Regions from separate parts of the Homo sapiens genome. Here region 1 is linked to region 2. The links are contacts of gene promoters, found by promoter capture Hi-C in blood cells and fetal thymus (Javierre and others, 2016). All regions are on one chromosome and are shown on one strand. The core of a region is centred on a gene start or on the middle of the fragment in contact, and the rest is flanking DNA. Distances in the headings are between cores, read along the strand shown.

Region 1 (5,137 bases), core at 918-3,417, 57 kb after region 2:
TTTAAAAAGAGAGAGAGAAATGATGCCTAAAATATGTTCTTCCCAAGGCCCATGGGCATTTGTTCAGGGTTTACGATTTGCTTATCTCAATGTTTCCCAAAGCTTGAGATACACAAGTGTACCACTGGCCAAAGTAGGGTGGCTGTACATGGCCACAGCACAGCAATCAATTGGACTTCAAGGACACGGTCTTGGCACTAGTCTGTCTTTAATGTCTTTGGAAAGAAAGACCCGGGATCCAGGTTCATACTTTAGTTGGGAAATGTCTGTAGTTAAGCTTTAACAACATCGTTTTGTTTTCATTATATTTATATTTGGGTTCAATATTTATTTTTGACAAGTGACACTGGTTTTCAGTTCATAAAAATGATTAAAGGGCCGGGCGTGGTGGCTCACGCCTGTAATCCCAGCACTTTGGGAGGCTGAGGCAGGCGGATCACGAGGTCAGGAGATCACGACCATCCTGGCCAACATGGTGAAACCCCGTCTCTACTAAAAATACAAAACTTAGCAAGGCATGATGGTGAGCGCCTGTAATCCCAGCTACCCAGGAGACTGAGGCACGAGAATCGCTGAACCCGGGAGGCAGAGGTTGAAGTAGGCCAAGATCGCACCACTGTACTCCAGCCTGGGCAACAGAGGGAGATTCTGTCCCAAAAAAAAAAAAGATGAAATTTGGGTGGGGACAAAAAGCCACACCATATCATTATAATAGAACAACTTATATTCCTTTGGGTATATAACCAGTAATGGGATTGCTGGGTCGAATGGTAGTTCTGTCTTTAGGTCTTTGAGGAAACACCACACTGTCTTCCACTTTGGTTGAACAAATTTACACTCCCGCCAACAGTGTATAAGCGTTCCTTTTACTCTACAACCTTTCCAGCGTCTGTTATTTTTTGACTTTTTAATAACAGCCATTCTGACTTGTGTGAGATGGTATCTCATTGTGGTTTTGATTTGCATTTCTCTAATGATGAGTGATGTTGAGCTTTTATTCATATGTTTGTTGTCCACATGTATGTCTTCTTTTATTTATTTATTTATTTATTTTTAATTGATCATTCTTGGGTGTTTCTCGCAGAGGGGGATTTGGCAGGGTTATAGGACAATAGTGGAGGGAAGGTCAGCAGATAAACAAGTGAACAAAGGTCTCTGGTTTTCCTAGGCAGAGGACCCTGCGGCCTTCCGCAGTGTTTGTGTCCCTGGGTACTTGAGATTAGGGAGTGGTGATGACTCTTAACGAGCATGCTGCCTTCGAGCATCTGTTTAACAAAGCACATCTTGCACCGCCCTTAATCCATTTAACCCTGAGTGGACACAGCACATGTTTCAGAGAGCACAGGGTTGGGGGTAAGGTCATAGATCAACAGCATCCCAAGGCAGAAGAATTTTTCTTAGTACGGAACAAAATGGAGTCTCCTATGTCTACTTCTTTCTACACAGACACAGCAACAATCTGATTTCTCTATCTTTTCCCCGCATTTCCCCCTTTTCTATTCCACAAAACCACCATCGTCATCATGGCCCGTTCTCAATGAGCTGTTGGGTACACCTCCCAGATGGGGTGGCCGCCAGGCAGAGGGGCTCCTCACTTCCCAGAAGGGGTGGCCGGGCAGAGGCGCCCCCCACCTCCCAACGGGGCGGCGGCCGGGCGGAGGCGCCCCCAACCTCCCGGACGGGGCGGCTGGCCGGGCGGGGGCTGTCCCCCCCTCCCTCCCTGATGGGGCGGCTGGCCGGCCGGGGGCTGGACCCCGCCTCCCTCCCGGACGGGGCGGCTGTCTTCTTTTTTTTGTTTTTTGAGACAGAGTCTCCCTCTGTCACCAGGCTGGAGTGCAGTGGTGCGATCTCGGCTCACTACAACCTCCACCTCCCGGGTTCAAGCGATTCTCCTGCCTCAGCCTCCCAAGTAGCTGGGACTACAGGTGCATGCCACACACCCAGCTAATTTTTCGTATTTTTAGTCGAGACAGGGTTTCACCGTGTTAGCCAGGATGGCCTTGATCTCCTGACCTTGTGATCCGCCCACCTCAGCCTCCCAAAGTGCCAGGATTACAGGGGCGTGAGCCACCTCACCTGCCAATTTCTTTCTTTTTTTTTTTTTTTTTTTTTTGAGACTGAGTCTTGCTCTGTTGCCCAAGACTGGAGTGCAGTGGCACGATCTCTGCTCACTGCAAGCCCCGCCTCCCAGGTTCACACCATTCTCCTGCCTCAGGCTCCTGAGTAGCTGGGACTACAGGCGCCCACCACCACGCCCGGCTCATTTTTTGTATTTTTAGTAGAGGTGGGGTTTCACCGTGTTAGCCAGGATGGTCTCGATCTCCTGACCTCATGATCCACCCGCCTCAGCCTCCCGAAGTGCTGGGATTACAGGCATGAGCCACCGTGCCTGGCCTCAATTTCTTATTCTTAATAACTCCTACCACATTCCTCCCTGCGGCGATATCACGCTAACTGCTGTTAAGGGGTTTTGGGCAACGACTCTTTCTGGCTATTTCCTACTGAAAAGGGATGTTGAATGGGGAACAGCAGCCAGGGCTCCTGCTGGGGTTGATTTAGGGGTTCTTGGAAGAATGGCGTGTCCGTGTGTGGTTCAGTTTGCAGCACCATTTGGGGTTTGATTGCTTCTAGGCGAGAAGAAACAATTTGAGTTATAGTACTGAGTAGACTTCGTCCAAATATCAATACAAGACATATAAGCAAGAGAGGGCTTAATAAACGGATTAACCATTCCATAAAGAAGACTGTAATTTATTAAAGAGGGATTGTAGCCACTGAGGGCTGAAGCTGGCATTTTCCCTGAGCCTGTTAATAATTTTGATTTTATCTTTAGGTACCTGTAGATTTTCCTTTACTTTACTAGGTGTTAATCCAAAAGCAGCATGTTTCATTTAAAAGTGCATCACTAGGGCCAGGTGCGGTGGCTCATGCCTGTAATCCCAGCATTTTGGGAGGCCGAGGCGGGCGTATCATGAGGTCAGGAGATCGAGACCATCCTGGGTAACACAGTGAAACCCTGTCTCTACTAAACAAATACAAAAAATTGGCCAGGCGTGCTGGCGGGCACCTGTGGTCCCAGCTACTCAGGAGGCTGAGGCAGGAGAATGGTGTGAACCCGGAAGGCAGAGCTTGCAGTGAGTCAAGATTGCACCACTGCACTCCAGCCTGGGCAAGACAGCAAAACTCCATCCCCCACCAAAAAAAGTGCATCACTAAACCCAATTAAAAAGTCCTAGCTGACTTAGTGATAGTAAAACTTTTATGCTTCCTTTTTGTCAATAACTATTATCCCGGTTATAAGGATAATAATTAAGCAAAATAGGACAGCAATGGAAACTGTCCAATATTTTAGTTAGAAGGTGCTACTGTGTATAACACTATTGCAAATAGTAGAGTGAGGACAGCAATTTCCACAAGTGTAGTGTGGTAGATAATTTCCACCTAATATTTTACTTGCCGGCCGGACGCGGTGGCTTAAGCCTGCAATCCCAGCACTTTCGGAGGCCAAGGTGGGCAGGTCACCTAAGGTCGGGAGTTCAAGACCAGCCTGACCAACATGGAGAAACCCCGTCTCTACAAAAAAATACAAAAAATTAGCGGGGCATGGTGGTGCATGCCTGTAATCCCAGCTACTCAGAAGGCTGAGGCAGGAGAATTGCTTGAACCTGGGAGGCGGAGATTGCAGTGAGCCAAGATTGTGCCATTACACTCCAGCCTGGGCAACAAGAGTGAAATTCTGTCTCAAAAAAAATTTTTTACTTGCCAAGATATAGAATTCCCCTTTTAGGGTCTCTGAAGTTCCTTGGTTTTATTTTCCCAAACAAAGAAACCTCCCGGTTATGAGCACCTTACTCACTTTCTTTACCTGGCAAAATTTGCAAGATAATTGCCCAGAACTAGAGTATTGATTCACCTTTTTACCTTACCCATCGCTTTTTTTTTTCCAAGCTGCAGAAGATCACCTCTTGATTCACAGGAATAAGCAGGGTTAGTCTAAAATGTAAGCAAAAAGTTTAAAAACAATTAATGAAACTAGGATTTAATGACAAATGTATGATAAGCTTTGGATCAAAATTTTTCTCTTCAGTCCTCATTTTTGGTAAGCACTAATTATGAATAAACTTTAGTCCTTTTAGAAATAAATTATCAGGGCTGCAAAAGAAATAGCACTCAAGACCAGGTGCGGTGGCTCACACCTGTAATCCCAGCAATCTGGGAGGCCGATGTGGGCAGATCACAAGGTCAGGAGATCAAGGCCATCCTGGCTAACACGGTGAAACCCCGTCTCTACTAAAAACACAAAAAATTAGCCAGGCGTGGTGGTGGGCGCCCATAGTCCCATCTACTCAGGAGGCTGAGGCAGGAGAATGGTGTGAACCTGGGAGGCAGAGCTTGCAGTGAGCCGAGATCGCACCACTGCACTCCAGCCTGGGCCACAGAGTGAAACTCCATCTCAAAAAAAAAAAAAAAAAGAAAAAAGAAAAGAAATAGCACTCAAACATAAATTTAATTTTCTCAGCAAGGCAATTTTACTTCCATACAAGGGTGTGTCTCACGGATGGAGCAATGGCGAGAGCACACCTGAACAAGGGAGGGGAAGGGGTTCTTATCCTAACTCAGCTAGTCCCTACTGCTGTGTCTTTCCCCTATTGGCTAGGGTTGGACCACACAGTCTAAGCTAATTCTGATTGGCTATTTTAAAGAGAGCAGGGGTATGAGCCAGAGTGGTGGGATAGGTAGTTTGGCAGGAAGGATGGTTACAGAACAGGTGACTCAGGATGACTAACAACAGAGCAGGTGACCAAGGGTGACTAAGTTCAGAGCAGGTGATAGAGGCTAGGAGGGGGTTGTTTACTGTAACTAGGGGCAAGGAGATGTAAAGAACGAGAAACTTTAAAATGAAGAACAAAGAACAGGAGAGCTGAATATACTGATACATTGGTTCTTTGAAGAGGATCTCAGAACTCATTGTGCTTAACAATTTATAGGCTAAAACCTTTGAAGAGGAATTTATTATATCCTACAATCTTATACTTGGCCTGATTATTTGCGTAAAGTGCAGCAAGAATGGTTATTTTTACTTACATAGGCCTTTTGCATTGGCTTTAATGAAACTCTGTTTCACAAGGAATTTCAG
Region 2 (5,210 bases), core at 1,691-4,190:
ACCCAGGAGATGTAGGTTGCAGTGAGCCGAGACCATGCCACTGCACTCCAGCCTGGGCGACAGAAAAAAAAAAAAAAAAAAAAACTGAAAGATCAAAGTCCACTCTGCCAGTTTCTGATTCTGAATGAACAGCCTAACAGGAGGCTTCAGGGCAGAATGGCATGGCTCCCCAAGAACCTACACCAGGGGGTCACTACTGATGTGCAACTGTTTCCAAGGACATCTTCAGAGGCAGAAGTACATGGCATGTTCTCAGTATGGGGCTGTCCACACCCTCCCAAACTGTCCCCATAATGCTGTCTGGACCCTACGGCCAGCTCTTCCTGGGTGATCAGTTACGCCCGAGCTAAACAGTATATAACACTCTAGGAAAGAAAGAGTAGGAGGCAGGAAGTCCACTGACCTGGGTTCATGAACTAGCTGCAGGAATCCAGGCAAATGACCTCCCCTGGCCTCCTTTTATCCCTAAATCAGCCCACGTGGGGGAAAGGAGTAGGGACTTGTTTATGGGAGCCACAGTGGAGAAACAGAATCACCTAGCCAGGCATTTCCCAGACTGTTCTAAAGAACACGCCCCAGGAGACGTTAATGAATGAGTGCTGGAAACAGATGACTCTTGAGAAACAATCCACACCCCCTTCTTGGAAATTCACAATGGCATATTCTGCCCCTGAGAAGTCCTGCAGTAAGCAACCCTGTTCAGCTTTGTTTAACCCAGTGTTCCTTCAAACTCCCTTAAGCCTGAGCCACTTTTATCGAGGCAAACCTATTAACACCCTGTGGGATGCTGACCCAGGCCACCTTTGTATTACAGACACCCAACCCTGAGAATCATTCATATCCTAACTCCTCGTCTCTTATAACCTCTGTGCGTACACCCAGCTGCCCCTCAGAGCAGTCACATGAAGTACTAGACATGCCCTCTCACTCTCAGGGGGTCAGCCCAGTGCCAGGATCTCTGGCGAGGGTCCTCCCCTTCCCCCATTCCACACAGCTGCTATCCCACCGTGGGATTTACTGCCAAGGGCCGGGGGACATATCCAGCTACCACAGAACCAGGAAACGGGCACCCCTAACCTCACCTCTGTGCAACGGGGCAAAGCACAAATCATTACAGACAAAAGTGGGAGCTCATTAATATCTCCCTTCCCACCAATGGAGGTACCTGCCACTGTAGCCTGTCGACTTCTGGATATCATTTCTACTTCAAAACAAGACCCAGGTTTTGGCCTAGAATCCCAGAATCTTAGGGTTGGAAGATTCTGTCAAGGTCATCCCTTCCACTGTGTCCCCAACAGAATAGGTCCAGAAGGCCCATGTCATGATCAGACATGTTGTTAGCAGAACTTCTTCCCAGAGAATTGTATGAGCTTCCACTCTCTGGTCGTCCCAGTTCAGCCCTCTGAAAACACACAAGTATGTGTGTTTCCCTTCTCTGTGGCTTCTGCTTTTTCTGAAAGGCCCAGGGTGAGGCCTGCGGTTGGAGGTGCTCTGAGGTAGACAGCGTCTGGCTGAGGCACCCATTCCCAGGGGAGGAGGCTGAGCCCAGGTGGCTATTACCCCAGCTCATGACATGAGGCTCTCCCAACACTTACAGGATAACCCATCATTACCTCTCTGAAGGGCTCATTTTTACAAGTGAGGCCTTGAGGTCATAGCACAGAAAGACAGGGCCCCTGACACTGTGGTCCTGCCTCTTCCATTTAAGCTATAAACTGGTTCTCTGGATCCTCATGACTGGAGAGACAGAGAGAGGAGGCAGGTGAGAAGGAAGTATGGCTCCCCCTTTGCGCCAATAAAGCAGCCCCAGGAGGCACCTGGCTCCCCTGCCACCACTGGCCAGCCCAAAGTCGCCAGCTTGGAAACCAAAGCTCACTAATGAGATGAATATTTCAGAGCCCAGAGAACTGGACACCTGAGGGCCCTTCCATGACATCTGGCTCTGACCTGCGTTCCCAGGCCTACTTATCCCATGTCCAGGGTGCTCAGGTAGAACCCCAAACTCCTGGGTACCACGTAGAGGCCACAGAGGAGGGAGAGGAGATGGAGACCCCATAGGACAAGAATTGGTGCCGACCCCACAAGGCCAGGGCCTGGCCTCCCAGCAGCCTCCCTCTGCTTCCTCCCACTGGTCCCTGGCTCCTGCCCCAGTCTCTCCACTTGCTTTCCCTTTTCCCGTTTCTCTGTTTTGTTTTCACTCTAACCCAAAGAAGTCACGAGGAGGATGTTACTCCCCTGTAGTTCTGTGAACCCAGCCGGGAAACAGTGGCTGGAAGTGGGACTGGCAGAGGGCAAAGTCATGGTGATAGAGGTGGCCACTTCCCCATGCCAAACACTTGAGCTGCTCATTGGCTTCTGCCCCAGCTGCAAGCTAGGACCCCCCCTTCCCCACCCCTTAAATATTCACCTGTCTACACCGAGACTGGCCTCAGCGCGTGTGGGGGCAACCTGGGGTCCGTGCCAGGCCCTGGCTGTCTCCCCTCCCTCTTCCCTCTTCTCACCAGCTGAGGGCCATGAAAGCCCTCATCCCACACAGCTGGCCACTCGGGCTGGCATGGTGGATAGGCCCTGCGACAGAGAGGCCACTCGTGCCCGAAAGAGGGAACACGAGGACACCCCCAGACCCTGGCTCCGCTCACCAGTGCCCACAACACGCTGCTGGGCTCCCAAGGCTAACCAGGTGCCACAGACCCGGCCGCCCACCCGCGCGCCCAGGGAGAGCGAAACGCCAAGGGCCAGGAGGGGAGATCCCCATCTGGAACGGGCTCCTTGGGCCCAGGAGCGGGCAAGCCGGGAGCGCGCTCCGAAAAGTTTAGGCGCCCCGGCGCATGGCCGCCCCAGCCCTGGACCAGTCCCCACCGCCCACAGTCCCCAACGGCGCCGGCCCCGGCCCCCTGGCTTGCCTGCGCCGTTCCAGACGGAGCGTTCCTGGCCTCGGAGTGTTGCAAGTCCTCCGGGGCCGGGCAGGGCTAGGCTCGGCTGGGGCTCCGCGCCCCGCCCCGTCGCGCCGGCCTCGTGGGGCGGGGCCTCAGGGCGCCGCCAGGGGGCGCAGGGGTCTGTCCCGGGCGCGCGCGCCTCTCAGAGCCCCGACGACGCCTCACTAATAACACAGGGGTATTTTCGGATTTAAAGGCAATACATGATACTGATAGGAAGCTAGAAAAGACACAGAAATGCAGGGAAGAAAGTAATTTCTCTCCACCCCTCCTAGTTCCCAGGGGGAAGCGTTCGCTTTGGGTCCTTCTTTGGCTATTACATTTCTGTATGTATTTTGTTTTTCTACAGTGGGGTATATTGTATGGTGTTTTGTTTACTGCCCTTCTTTTTACTGTTTTATGATGAACATTTTTCTTCTCACTAAATAGTCTTCAAAAGCACAATCTTAATGCCGTGAAGTATTCCATTGCATGGCTATGCGGATTAAATTAATTTCCTACTGGAGGCCGTTTGTTTCCCATTTTTACATTACAAATAAATCAGTAATTAAAATCCTTGATAATTCTGTGTTTTTGAGATAAATGCACTTTTCGAGTTTAAAACTGCAAACATGCAAACCTAGAATCTCTGTTTATAATTACTCAACCAGGAAAGCAGGTGCTTTCCTCAAGTCAGAATTCAGAAGTCCTACATTGAGATGTAGATTACTACTGTTAGGTAGGTCTTAACCCTCATCTCAGTGAAGAATGCAGTAGCAAAGGAGGAAACAGTTTTGAGGAAGTTCTGAAATATTACTGGAGCCTGGGCATGGTGACTCACACCTGCGATCCTAGCACTTTTGGGAGGCCAAGGCCAGAGGATGGCTTGAGCCCAGGAGTTGGAGACCCAGCCTAGGCAACATAGAGAGACCTTGTCTCAATTTAAAAAGAGAAACATTACCGAGCCTTGCCTGAGTTTCTGTGGTTCCAAAGTCCAAGTTCTTTCCATGACACCAAGGCTGCCAGTAGTTGACCAACTCTGTTTAAAGTGCTTATCTCATGTTAATAGCTATAGGTCAGCACCACACCACCACTGAATGTCCTTTTTTTTTTTTTTTTTTTTTTCCAGACAGGGTCTCGCTCTGTCACCCAGGCTGGAGTGCAGTGGCGCCATCTCGGCTCACTGCATCCTCCTCCTGGTTTCAAGTGATTCTCCGGCCTCAGCCTCCTGAGTAGCTGGGATTACAAGTGTGTGCCACTACACCCAGCTAATTTTGTTTGTTTGCTTGTTTGTTTTGTTTGGTTTGTTTGTTTTGTAGAGATGGGTTTTCACGTTGTTGCATAGGCTGGTCTCAAACCCCTGAGCTCAAAGCAGTCAGCCCACTTTGGCCTCCCAAAGTGCTAGGATTACAGACATGAGCCACCACGTCCAGCCCCAAAACAGAGATTTAAAAAAAAAAAAAAAAAAAAAAGACAGATTTTTAAAAACTGCCCCCCATACACACACTATGTATGTTTATTTCTGTAAATATAGTTTAAGTAGGAGTTACTTAGGGGGACTAGTGGCCGTTATGGTGGGCTAGCTCCCCAGACACCCCAACCCTTCAGTGTACTTCCAGTTCCTACAGGCCAAGAACCTCATTTTAGGAAGTCCCCACCCAAGGTGTGATCTCACCAGAGCAAGTACAGTTCTGCTCAGTGTCTGTCTCCCCCTTGCTCAAGGAGTAGCGCCCTAGGTGAAATGCATGGCCCATGGAATCTGTCCAGATCCCTGACATTTTTTCATGCTCTCTACACTTGTGCTGTCTTAGTCCATCTGGGCTGCTACAACAAAAATACCTTAGAGTGGGTAATTTAGAAACAGCAGAAATGTATTGCTCACAGTTCTGGAGGGTGGGAAACGCAACATCAAGGCACCAGCAGGTTAGGTGTCTGATGAAGGCTCCCTCTGCTTCACAGATATCGTCTGAGTCCTCATATGGCCAAGGAAGGAACAAACAGACACCGCCCCCCCACCAGCCTTCCTTTTTTTTGAGATGGAATCTCACTCTGTGCAATGGCACAATTGCAGCTCACTGCAGCCTTGACCTCCCATGTACAAGCAATCCTTCCAACTCAGCCTCCTGAGTAGCTGGGACTACACACATGCACCACCACACCTGGCTAATTTTTGTATTTTTTGTAGAGACAGGGTCTCACTATGTTGCCCACGCTGGTCTTGAACTCCTGGGCTCAAGCAATTTGCCCTCCTCCACCTCCCAAAGTGCTGGGATTATAGGCGTGAGCCACTGCACC

The links. The method cuts DNA at HindIII sites, captures the fragments that hold promoters and counts their contacts. A CHiCAGO score of 5 or more calls a contact.
Region 1: a contact is called between a fragment that was not itself captured here and the fragment with the promoter of TMBIM1 in region 2, in 13 of 17 cell types (neutrophils, erythroblasts, total CD8 T cells and 10 more). The highest score is 10.5, in neutrophils.

Annotation. Positions count from the first base shown.
Region 1 is chr2:218,347,234-218,352,370 of GRCh38, forward strand. CATIP-AS2 (CATIP antisense RNA 2) reads right to left here. Exons shown (of 4, transcript NR_125777.1): 2 at 3,927-3,993. Among named protein-coding and RNA genes, the nearest start is that of CATIP, 7.1 kb to the right of the region's middle. RefSeq lists an enhancer at 1,681-2,231. The HindIII fragment of the contact is 3,784 bases long and covers 276-4,059 here.
Region 2 is chr2:218,289,563-218,294,772 of GRCh38, forward strand. TMBIM1 (transmembrane BAX inhibitor motif containing 1) reads right to left here and starts at 2,941. Exons shown (of 12, transcript NM_022152.6): 1 at 2,904-2,941. All of the region lies in intron 2 of PNKD (PNKD metallo-beta-lactamase domain containing), which reads left to right. RefSeq lists enhancers at 90-589, 1,509-2,473, 2,474-3,436, 3,619-4,465 and a silencer at 2,719-3,198. The HindIII fragment of the contact is 24,107 bases long and covers 1-5,210 here.